Regions from separate parts of the Homo sapiens genome. Here regions 1, 3 and 4 are each linked to region 2. Evidence: promoter capture Hi-C in human tissues and cell types (Jung and others, 2019). All regions are on one chromosome and are shown on one strand. Each heading gives the region's core, a stretch centred on a gene start or on the middle of the fragment in contact. The rest is flanking DNA. Distances are from core to core; before and after follow the strand shown.

Evidence for each region. Contacts are between HindIII fragments. The study calls those that stand out against the background at their distance.
Region 1: a fragment that was not itself captured here is called in contact with the fragment with the promoter of RPRML in region 2 in 2 of the 25 tissues and cell types used here (dorsolateral prefrontal cortex and mesenchymal stem cells).
Region 3: a contact is called between a fragment that was not itself captured here and the fragment with the promoter of RPRML in region 2, in 1 of the 25 tissues and cell types used here (spleen).
Region 4: a fragment that was not itself captured here is called in contact with the fragment with the promoter of RPRML in region 2 in 3 of the 25 tissues and cell types used here (H1 embryonic stem cells, heart right ventricle and stomach).

What each region holds. Positions count from the first base shown.
Region 1 is chr17:46,730,118-46,733,028 of GRCh38, forward strand. All of the region lies in intron 17 of NSF (N-ethylmaleimide sensitive factor, vesicle fusing ATPase), which reads left to right. It also overlaps a transcript of LRRC37A2 not described here. Among named protein-coding and RNA genes, the nearest start is that of WNT3, 87 kb to the right of the region's middle. RefSeq lists an enhancer at 2,492-2,911. The HindIII fragment of the contact is 3,561 bases long and covers 1-2,911 here.
Region 2 is chr17:46,977,784-46,980,771 of GRCh38, forward strand. RPRML (reprimo like) reads right to left here and starts at 1,470. Exons shown (of 1, transcript NM_203400.5): 1 at 373-1,470. The coding sequence starts at 1,224. The coding sequence ends at 862. It also overlaps a transcript of LRRC37A2 not described here. RefSeq lists enhancers at 1-255, 256-935 and a silencer at 1,413-1,592. The HindIII fragment of the contact is 12,504 bases long and covers 1-2,742 here.
Region 3 is chr17:46,840,576-46,843,850 of GRCh38, forward strand. It overlaps a transcript of LRRC37A2 not described here and a transcript of WNT9B not described here. Among named protein-coding and RNA genes, the nearest start is that of WNT9B, 9.4 kb to the right of the region's middle. The HindIII fragment of the contact is 7,127 bases long and covers 1-3,275 here.
Region 4 is chr17:47,180,138-47,183,147 of GRCh38, forward strand. CDC27 (cell division cycle 27) reads right to left here. Exons shown (of 19, transcript NM_001256.6): 2 at 1,425-1,500. Among named protein-coding and RNA genes, the nearest start is that of CDC27, 7.7 kb to the right of the region's middle. The HindIII fragment of the contact is 6,447 bases long and covers 1-3,010 here.

The DNA.
Region 1 (2,911 bases), core at 174-2,673, 250 kb before region 2:
TATCATGATTCCTCCAATGTTTTCATAAATAAGTAAACGTATATATCTAAAGTTGCTGAAACAGAAATAATTACCCCCAACATCTACATATATTATGCACACAAAAAAACTTTATGTCAGCATATTAATTATAAAAACTATTAGAATGTGAGACTTTTTCTAGGCATTTAAATTTATCTCTTAAAATAGTTCTTCTTTTTTAGCTGAAAATAATTTATGCTAAAAGTCACTTGGGAGAAGGAAGATTAACTTCAGTGCTATCTTATACTTCTTGTTCTTTACATTGTTAAATACTATACACATTGATTTAAACAGAGGTACACCCCCTTGGCTGAGAAGCATTTGTGATCCAAAGTAGATACTAACAGAAATAAACAGAAACTATTAACGAATGATCTGCCACACTAAGATTTAAGAATAATTGTTTCTGTGTTGTAAAACTTATTGTAAGATTTTTGAGGGAAGGAACATTATCTTATGCTTTTAAATCTCACAGCCAATGGCATAGAGGCTTATACGTACATGCTTCACAAATACCTTATCAACAAAAAAAAATTTTTCAGTGTCTTTTCATTTTAGTGGGCTCAAGTGTTTTCATATTGCTGGAGTTTATATTTAGACAGGATATGATAAGAGTGAAAACATTCAAAAATAAGTAAAGTTCAAATGGCCAACAAGTATAAGAAGAGGTACTCAACATCATTAGTCATCAGAGAAATGCAAGTCAGAACCAATAGTGAGATACCACTCATTGCATACCTGCTAGAATGGCTATCATCAAAAAGTCAGGTAATGACAAGCGCTGGTGCAGATGTGGAGAAATTGGAACCTGTATGCACTGCTGGTAAGAATGTTCCTCAAGAGGTTAAGCATAGAGTTACCATATAACCCAGCTATTCCACCAAGTATACACCTACAAGCAATGAAAAACATATGTCCACATGAAAGCTTGTATGTGAGTATTCATAGCAGCATTATTCATAACTAAACATTTATCTGATAAAATCTAGTATATCCATATAATGGAATATTACTCAGCAATAAAAAAAAGTAGTACCATTACATACTACAACATGAATGAACTTTGAAAACATGCTAAGCAAAAGGAGCCAGTCAAAAAGACCACATATTGGATGATTCCAGTTACATGAAATGTCCAGGACTGGCAGATCTATAAAGACAGAAAATATATTTGGGATGGCCTAGGGCTGGGAGGGGAGAATGAGAAGAGTGAGAGGGTCACTGCTAATGGGTATGGGGTTTCTTTTTGGGGTGATAGAAATGCTCTAAAATTGATTTTGGTGGTGTTGTGTATATCTGTGAATATACTAAAATACTGAATTGTACACTTTAAATGGGTAAACTGTGTGCTCTGTGAACCATATCTCAAGCGATTACATTTTTTAGAAGTGGTTTAGGAGCTACTTAAATGATGAAAGGAGACATAGAGTTAGAAGTGAGGGGTGAGCATCCAAGGTACGTGGCCCAGCTTGGGAGAAAGAGGAATTGGATCATTTAAAAAGAACATGGAGTGAATTTATCTAAGGACTGAAGAGGAAGAATATAGAAATATGTAAGAAGTAAGAGATGTGGTTGCCTTAGTGATTGGAAATGGCAGGGGTTCTCTCTGAAGGGAATACCATCTGGTCATTAATCTGAATTTGGTGACTCTGACCTGGACTGCCAGATTACCTGCAGTATACATGAATCAGTAACAGGATAAATTAATATTTGTAGTATTTCTAGTTGGCATGTATTTAACAAAATAAAAATGTGCTTTGTCATACCACCTTGCTTTTTAAAATGTTTATATTCTCTCAAGAAAATAAGGGGAAATTTTCAGGCTGATCCAAGTGTTAAGAATATTAGTCATTGTAAAATGGAAGCATTCACTTTGTCAAACCATTAGCATATAGTTTTTTCAGATGTTTTTAATTAAATATTAAAGGTATATTCAGCTAAATATTGTAGAAATGCATAGAGTGATAGAAAAATATTTATTACTGGTAAGAAAACAAAAGTTGTGAGCATTTTTCTTTAAAAGGAGGAACTATACTTATATACACTACAGTAATCATATCAGTCACAGAATCCTCAATTTTGCATTTGTTGTATTTCCAGCTTTCACACAGAAAAATTGTGTGTGCATGTGTGCACGTGCTCAAATAAAAGAATCCCTTCAGGGGCACTATGTTGTTATGTATCCAGATATTCTCTTTTCTCCTTCCACCCCTCCCCCACCACCCCCTCCCTTCTTGTAAATTGGCTTATTAAAACTGGTTCCCAAGCCCTCCTTTTTTCCCTTTGTGATTGCCTTGGTCTTGGATTTTCAGTGTAGAACTAAAAATTCAAGTCAGATTTCAGTTACTAGGATAATTTTCTTTGAATTTTAAATTTTTCTAAGTAAATGCATAGATTTTTAATGAACCTGGTATTCAGTGGATTTGCTTTAAATTTAGCTGCAGAGTTAATTTCATGATTGATTTATTAGCCCTTTGAAAGTATAAAAAGTGGTATCTGCAGTTCGTGAAGAGTGAAAAACATCATCACATTTTGTTTAGCATCTTTTTAAAACCAATTAAAAGCTTTTCTAAAATGGATTGAACAGGAGAAAATAAAACATGTTCCCTAGGTCTTTATTTCAATCAAGTTTCCCTGTGTTCTGCAGGAGAAGAGATCGAGAGGGGATAGAAAAATTGAAAAGGGCTGTCCCAGCAGGGAGCCAAGCCGGAAAAAAGGGCTTCTCTGAGAACTCAGCAGCAGCAGCTAAGAAAGCTCCCAGCCTGCTTCATCTACATGCAGAGTCACACAAGGCATGGGGGTGCTCACTGTCACACAGAGGTTTCACATGTGCTTCCCTGCTGATTCCTGTGAAAAGCTAACAATTGGCTTGGAGGGTAAAAGACCACTG
Region 2 (2,988 bases), core at 220-2,719:
TTAACTAGATCTAGTTTTCCCCTCTGCCAAATTGAATTTTCCTTGTTCACATTTTCTTCGTTTTGGACACAGCTGACTGATTTTGTTTCATCTCATATTAGACTCATATATCCAGTGATTTAATTAATCTCACCAGCTGTCTGGCTGTCCCACAGGACCTGCCTTCTCCGCTGTTGGCGTTAGAAAACGATTCCCTTTGCCTTTCCTCGCTCTGGCCTCCGCGTGGAGCCCCAGGATCCTTGACCTGACCTGTGGGCTCCCCAGCCAGGCGTCCACGCAGGGGCTAGATGTCTCCCACGGGGCTCAAAGTGTCCGCCAGGAGGGTACATGCCCTCCGCCCCGCAACACACACACACACCTCACAGGCGCGGGTGGGAAGCTGCCTGAAGCCCTACGGCTGCAGTTTTATTACAAGATTTCTTTCCAAACGCAAGATCAGGCCAACAAGCTCAGCGACTCTGACGCTTCACATCTTCACCCACTCGCACCGTGTTCCGAACCCACCCGCACCAACGTACACACAAAACTCCCACGCGAGCGACCGCAGTCCCAAATTGCATCTCCATACCCACTCCCACCCTGCCCCGAACGTCTTAAAAAACAAACAAACAAAAAAAACTGGTAAGAACCCTCACCCCACATTCTCCCACCCCGCAACGCTGCAGCGCACACAGGACAGAGCCGGGCGTCCAAGTCCCTTCCCGCGCCCCCGCCGACAGTCTCGCCGCGTCCCCGCCCGGGCGCCCCAGGCACGTAGCTGCCCGCCCGGAGGCGGCGGCAGAGCGCAGAGAGCGGGGCGAGGGTCCGGGTCTCCGGGGTCCTTCTTGCAGCAGCGCTGGCGAGGGCGGACCCAGATGGCGCTCAGTACAGCCCCAGGATGGCTGCGCCCACGTCCTTGGAGGGCCGGCGCTCCTGCACCAGAAAGTTGATCATGCTCTCGGACTTGATGAGCAGGTTGCAGCCCAGGAAGAAGACGCCGAAGACCACGGTAAGCGACAGCACGCAGAGCACGGCGATCTGCGCCACCCGCGACACCCACAGGCTGCGCTCGTCGGGCGCCAGCCCCGCGGGGACCCCGTCGCTGGCGGCCAGCGGTGCGCCCCCTGGACAGCAGCCCAGCCACGTGCCCAGCCCGTGGGTGCGGTTTCCCAGGGCGGCCCCGGCGCCGCCGCCCACGCCGTCCACCTCCTCCAAGCCGCTGTGGTTCAGGAAGGTCGCGTTCATCGCCGCGCGGCGCCGGGGGTCTCGGCGCGCAGTCCCGGGTGCACTGGGCTGCTCGCCGGGGTCCGCGCTCTCAGGGACGCTCCGGACCCCTCGGACCGGCTCCTGCGGTACGGGGAGGGGACGAAGGCGGGAGGCTGGCTGCCTGCGCGCTCTCGGGCCGCCTACCCCTGGGCACCGGGCGGGAAGCGACCGCCCGGAGGAGCGAGCAACAGGCGGCGCAGGAGCTGGAGCCGGAGAACCTAGTGTGCTTAGCGGTCGCCCGCTGGGTTCCTCGCGCGCCTGGCCGCCCCTCCCCTAGCAACGGCCCGGCCCCGCCCCGCCGGTCCCCGCGGCATCTCCGAGGGGCGGGAATCCCGCCGCGGGCGCAGCCTCCCCGGAGTCCCGGTGCTGGAGGGGGTCGGGAGATCCGGCAGCCTCTGTCCGCGGGCCGGCGAAACTCCACCCCCTCCTGGCACCCGCTGTCCGTTCTTGGCTAGAAAACCTCTCCAAGGTGCCCATTCCAGGATTTGATACCCTTAGCAGTGAAGTTATTCCGGAATCTGCCCTGACTCTCTTCGCTTATTATTTAAGCCCTCGTAAGCCTTGCTAGACATCAGATGAGTCGCCGGGACCCCTGGCGCTGCCCACTCCACTGGCCCCGGGTCTCCTGGGCGGTCCTGCCTCACAGCTTTCCCGGGGTGAAAGCTGTCGCGGCGAGGCGGGCTCTCTGCCTCCTTCCCTACACCCTCCTCTCAACTTGGTCCCATTTAACTTTTTTTTTAAATTAAAAAATAAATTACTGTTTTTTTCTTTCTTTTTTACACAAACATAGTCATTGTAGACTAGTTTAGAAAACATGAATTACCGAAATTACTCTAAAACTTTATAATCTGCCTCCTAGAGAGTGTCGATGTTATCACCTGGGTATAAACTCCTCCCAGACTTTTTCTATTTGTGCCTTTCTCTAGATAACAGATATGGGGATGCACCGTTCCTGCTTACTGCCTCCCAACCTTTCCTCACTTAACAGCGTAACTTTCCCTAGCGATGGTCCTCTACAGCTATGGCTCTGAATTGCCTTGGAGGGTTTATTAAAACCCAGATTGCTTCCACCTCCCGCCCCCAACCTCCCCACCCCAACCAACCCCAAGAGTTTCTGAATCAGATGTGGGATGGGGCCCCAGAATGTGCATTTCTAACAGTTCCCACGTGATGCACAAACTACTGAGCTACAACATCATTTTTAGTGAAGGAATGGCATTTTAAGGTATGGACTACTACAGTTTATTTAACCAAGCTTCCTGCTGGATGTCTGAGTTTTTCTTTCCTTCTTCTTCCTTCTCCCTTTCCTTCTCTCCTTCCTTCCTTCTTCTTTCTTTCTCTTCTTCTTTCTCTTCTTTCTTTCTCTTCTTTCTTCTTTCTTTCTTTCTGTCTTCTTTTTTCTTTCATCAGAAACAATATTACCATAAGGAGCCTTGTAACAAAGTATTTGTGCCAAAACTGATTTTTCTTTAGATTGTATTTTGAAAAATGGACCTGTAGAATCAAAAAGTAGGCCGGGCGCGGTGGCTCACGCCTGTAATCCCAGCACTTTGAGAGGCCGAGGCGGGTGGATCACGAGGTCAGGAGATCGAGACCATCCTGGCTAACACCGTGAAACCCTGTCTCTACTAAAAATACAAAAAAAAAAAAAAAAATTAGCCGGGCGTGGTGGCGGGCGCCTGTAGTCCCAGCTACTCAGGAGGCTGAGGCAGGAGAATGGCGTGAACCCGGGAGGTGAAGCTT
Region 3 (3,275 bases), core at 401-2,900, 140 kb before region 2:
AATTGCCATACTGTCTAATTGAACTAATTTACACTCCCACCAACAGTGTAAAAGTGTTCCTGTTTCTCCACATCCTTTCCTGCATCTGTTGTTTCCTGACTTTTTAATGGTCGCCATTCTAACTGGCGTGAGATGGTATCTCATTGTGGTTTTGATTTGCATTTCTCTGATGACCAGTGATGATGAGCATTTTTTCATGTGTCTGTTGGCTGCATAAATGTCTTCTTTTGAGAAGTGTCTGTTCATATCCTTTGCCCATTTTTTGATGGGGTTGTTTTTTCTTGTAAATTTGTTTAAGTTCTTTGTAGATTCTGGATATTAGCCCTTTGCAGGCTGTAAATTCTAAGCAGCAGGAAGTAGGTGTGAGTAGAAGTGGAGGCAGAAAGCAGCCGGTTCTGTTTCCAACTGCATTCTCCTTTCCTGTGCCCCTGTGTCATCACCATGGAACGCCTTTCCCGATGCTACTTCCAACAGGAGGCAGAGGGTGGGAGAATTCAGGTTGGAAGGCTTATCCCTAGGAAAGAGGGTGCCGACAGACAAGGCTCCTTGGAAGCCTGACAAATCAAATTTACCATTTATTGAGCACCTACTATGTGACAGGAACATGACACGCATGATTTCATTTAATCTTCACAACCAGCCCAAAGAGCAGCTTTCTCCCTATTTACAGTCGGAGAAACGGAGGCTCTGAGAGATTGTAAGGGACTTGCCCACGGTCACCCAGCTAGGAAGGAAAGCCAGAAGGCCAGCCTAGGTATCCTGGCGGTCCTGGATCAGAGACACTGCTGTGAGGCTTCCCGGTGGGAAGAAGGAAAGTCATGCATCGATATTCATCACCGAGTGAGAGTGAGAGTTCAGCCCTGTCCCAGGCACCTCTGGGCGGGAGGGTGGAGAATCCGAAAGAAAGAGGCCCGTCCCTGGTCCTCAAGGTCGTGCCAACAGGCCAACTAAGCCATGTCCCAAATTGAGAGCGGGTTAAGGTGGGGGCGTGGGGACGCCCTGACGCAACAGGGCTTCGGAGAAGGGAGCGCTGGGGGCTGCAATGCCAGAGGATTCCTTGAGGAGAAGGGGCTGGTGGGGCGGGTAGGGGCTGGCCGGGAGCAGGACCGGGAGGAACTGGACCCTCTGGACTGGGGAGTGCGGGGTAGATGAAGGCAGAGGAGATGGAGGTTCTGCAGTGTGAGGCAGGCGGACAGGGAAGCCTGCATCCAGCTGAGAGACCTTGAGCAACCACGTCCTCCTCTGAGCTCCGCGTTTGCCGTGTGCAAAGTGAAGGGGTAGGCCGACCCCGCAGGGCCCTTCTTGCGCTCCTCTGCGGTGTGTGGGGGGGTCTCTGGTCCGCGAGAGGACAGTCCCTGCCGCGCCGAGCGTCCTCCAGCGTCCGCGGCCGCCGCGAGCAGCGCTGACCGGCAGGGGGCGCTCCTGCAGAAGGCTGGCCGCGGTGGCGCCCTCGGCGGGGCCTGGGCTGGCCTGGGGACCCGGGAGGCCTCCCCCTCCATCCCTCCAGGTCCTCTCCCACCACTTGCCTTCTCACACCGCCCCTTCCCACTCTATGCTCTGGGATTAAAGGCTTGGGAAGTTGCTGGTATTTAGGTCCTTGGGCAGGCCACTTCGCCTCTCTGTGCCTCAGTTTCTTCAGGCGCAAACTGGGTTGTGTGAGGAAGAGATGAGTTATTGGTCAGGAGAGCCTTCCAGCCACAGGTGAGGTAGATATGCCGCTGCTGCACACCCCAATATCATTCCTAGGGCAGGGGCTGCTGCTCTACAACCTCAGGGTTACAGTTAGCTTTAAATCTTTATTTATTTGGTTGTTTTTTCAGACAGGGTCTCCCTCTGTCGCCCAGGCTGGAGTGCAGTGGCGCGATCACGGCTCACTGCAGCCTCAAACTCCTGGGTTCAAACCATCCTCCTGCCTCAGCCTCCCGAGTAGCTCGAACCACAGGTGCATACCACCATGCCCAGCTATTAATTTTTTTTGTAGAGATGGGATCTTGCTTTGGTGCCCAGAGCTGGTCTCGAACTCCTGGGCTCAAGTGATCCTCCCATCTCAGTCTCCCAAAGTGCTGGGATTACAGGCATGAGCCACCGTACCCTGCTTTAAACTTTTATTCAAAGTCCTTTTGTGCAAAGATAGAAATAATTCCTGGATCCTACAGAGTGCCTGGCATGATGAGTGATGCTCAAAACGTAGCTGTGGAATGATTAGTTTTTTGAAACCATCCAGACAGAAGCTATGAGAAAATCAGACAGTGCACCTCTTCTGAATCACACTGGAAGATGTCCACATTCATCTTCACATTTCTCACCACTGTTCTGTGAGGAAGGTGGACAGGGAGTGTTGTATCCATTTTATGGATGAAGAAACCGAGGTCGCAGAGGAAGCCAGAGACAAGATTTTAAGTTAGGACCCAGGGTTCTCTCCATGCAACCTCAGGTAAATTATCCTGTTGTTGCTAGTGACTCCTATTGGAGACATGTGGTATTGCAACCAGGCCACATTAGACACTGAAGGCACCTCATGAGGAAGAAGGTGGGCACATCCTGGGTGCCAAGCCCAGAGAGGGAGAAACTAGGGTAGATATTAATATCGGAGCTGGGGGAATGAAAATGATATTTCAGAATCAACAACAGATTGGAAAGGCTTAACTAGTTTAAAACACATTCCCTATTCTTAAGTCCCCAACACTTTTTCAACCTCCTCTCACTCCAAAGTAGAACTTAATGTAGCAAAGGTATGCTTTGTAGGGTGAACCCTTATAATTATAATGACAACCAGTGGGAAAACTTGGTTTCCTTTCAAACGTTTGTGTGACTAATTAGGAGGGACTATTCCATTCGTTAAAGTGAAGAAAGAAGGACTGAAAAAAAAAATCACTCTGCAAAATCCAGCTCAAACATTGCTGCATCTCAGTTGCCATTGTCTTAGCTACCTCTTCCCTGGAACAATGAATTGATTGTCTTCTTTCCTGGGTTCCTGCCTCATTTGGTACTTTCTTCTCTTTACTGCTGCACAGTCGTTAAATATGTGTCTTTGGTGCCAGCTCCCTGGGTTCTAATCCCGGTTCTAAGCTTACTAGCTGGCCAGTTACTTGACTTCTCTGTGCCCATTTCCTCATTTGTAAAATGCTGTGAGCATTAAATGGGTTAACAGTTTTATAGGACTTAGAACAATACCTGGTGTAATGTAAGTGCTCAATAACTAGTTTACACTTATATAGATATGTCAGAATGCTCTCTGTATTTATTTATGTGTCTTTCCCAACAAACTGTGTGCT
Region 4 (3,010 bases), core at 456-2,955, 200 kb after region 2:
TTTAAAAATACAGCAAAATATGGGGCCTGCCTAGGTATCAATGAAAATATTTTTAAATAGATTATTCACAATAAACATCACTTTTGCATAAGTGAATGGAGTAGATTAATCTATTGTATAATCTTCTTTCTAAGCCTTCCATTCCTTCTCACCTTTCTAATCTTTTCATTGGGACCTTAAACTCCTGCTGCCCAGATCTTCCTCACTTTTCTCACTGAATTCCCATTCTCCACCGAGGAGACAGCTCTCTCACATGGACAGTAATCACCTTACATCCCACTATCTCAGAGTCAAGGTAAGGCTGGTTTCCACTTAACTTCTCAAAACTACTTCCAAGCATTGCTCTTTGTCCTTTTGTGAAATTTCCTGCCCCTGAGGTTTAGGCCTTGTTCTCACAACTCTCAGCTACTAAACCCATACTGTTTGACTTGTAAATTCCATTTAAAAGTACATAACCCAAGGAAATGACTCAAAAAAAAAAAAAAGCTGTACACAATGATCTATATCAGCATCTTAGAAAGGGAATTATAATAATGACAGAAACAAAACATACATTATCAGTGGTGTTTATTAAGCATTGATTACCAAGCCAGATGGCTGTGCTAAGGGCTTTAAATAAACCATCTCATTGAATTTTTAATTCTAAGGGGCAATGATTATTTTATAGATGAAATATCTGAATTTTCAGATATTAAAGTAACTCGTCCAAGGTTATAAAACTGTACATTTAAGTGACAGGTTAGGATTTGTTCCAAGGCTATAGAGTCTAAATCCATGTTCTTCACCATAGAATACAGACTCTTTTCTTAAAAAAAAAAAAAAAAAAAAAAAATACATGGCATGGTGGCCCATGAGTATAATCCCAGCACTTTGGGAGGCCAAGGCAGGTGGATCACCTAAGCTCAGGAATTTGAGACCAGCCTGGGCAACATAGCAAAACCCTATCTCTACCAAAAAAAAAAAAAAAATTAGCCAGGCGTGGTGGTCCGTGCCTGCGGTCCCAGCTACTTGGGAGGCTGATGTGGGAGGATCGCTTGAGCCTGGGAGGTAGAGGTTGCAGTGAGCTGAGATGGTCCCACTGTACTCCAACATGGGTGACAGAGTGAGACCCTGTTTCAAAAAAAAAAAAAAAAAAAAAAAAAAAAAAAACCCAAAACAACAAAAACCCTGGGGGAAAAAAAAACCTAAAGATTGAAAAATGATTAAGTAAATCATAGCATATAAACCTGAATCAATTCTACATAGTTATTAAAAGTAGTATGTAAGGGAACTACACAGAAAAAAAGTAAAGATTTTATGAACTAGTGTCAATCAGAAAAACAACAAGATGATGATAGCTAGAATCTTGTTACAGTGATAAAAAGTTATGGAATTTCATATATGTTATTCATTTATCATTCTACAGCAATGAATAGATTTCAAACCTTCTGCATAAAGGCGTTCTGCGAGGAAAACCGCATCTCGGTAAGCATAGTGGTTTAGTGCTTGCCATATAGCAGCCTGCAAATGGAGGAAAAAGAACATAAATATACATACATACAGACTTTCAAGGTAACTACTAGCACACAGCCTTACATCAAATACTGAAATTAATATCCCTAATTTAAGTGATAAAACCCCAATGCCCACAGAGCAAACTCCAGAGTGTGCCGGGCAAGGCTCTTCACAGTATGGCTCCTAACATATCTGAATTTCCTCACTCAACTCTCTATGGACTTTTAGGCTTCTGTGCCTTTGTACACCCTTTTCCTCCATTGGGCAATGTGGGCTCCCCTCACCAGTCTCCCCTTATAAACTGCTCGTCCCTAAAGATCCAGCTTAAATAACATCTGCCCCATAAAGCTTTCCTGGCTGATGTCAAGCCATTTCTTTTTTAAGATACCTCTTCTAGTAGAGCACTCATAACATGGTTATTTGTTAACAGGACTGCCAACCCTACTAAACTACAGACTTTTAGCAGCAGTGGTTCTCAACCACTTTATGTGATATACATGACAGAGATATTAAAATGTATGTCATCCTCCCACAAAAACTTCCCTATCTATTACCTTTAATGCCACTCAATTCTCATCCACTCCAGGAAGCATATTGGAATGCAAATGAGTAAAGTTATCATAGGAATAACTTTTAATTTTTTGAATATATGTTTTCTCTTTTAGAATTACAAAACATATAACCTAAAGTATATATGAGATAGAAGGACATTTTAAGTAACAATAACCAAAGACATTTAGGCCCATGTACTCACCACCCAGCTTAAGAAATAAAATATCTCTGAAACTCCCTGTGTGTTCCTTGTTGATACCAAAACCTCTCCCTGCCCCAAAGAGGAAACCACCACACTGAATTTTCTTGACCTTTCTCTTGGTTTTCTTCACAATTTTATACATTTGTACATATCATCTCTAAGCAGTATAACATTTACTTTTTCCTGTTTTTGAACTTTAAATAAATACAATCATATTGTATACATTCTGCTACGATTTGCTTTTGAAATCCAATGTTTTGAAAATTCATTCTTGATGTGTGTAGCTAGAGTTCATTTGTTTTCATTGCTGAATAAATAATATTTCCATTGTATAAACATATCAAAATCCAAAATGTATTTTATCTATTTTACAGCATGTGGACATTTGGGTTATTTCTAGGGTGTTTTTTTGTTTTGTTTTGTTTTTCCAATTATAACAATGCTGCAACAGTCTTAGATTCATCTCCTGGGGTATATATTTAAGAATCTCTCCAGCCTATCACGGTGGTGTGAGCCTTTAGTCCCAGCGACTCAGAAGGCTGAGCTGGGAAGACTGCTTGAGTCCAGGAGTTCAAGGCTATGATCATACCTGTGAATAGCTGCTGGAGTGCAATAGGAGCAAGACTCCCATCAAAAAAACACAAAAAAGAATCTCTCCAAATTAGGATATATATTTAGGAATAAAATTACTGGGTTGTTGAATATGCATATGTTCATCTTTACTAGGTAATGTCAAATCATTTTTAGTAATAAACTACTTTT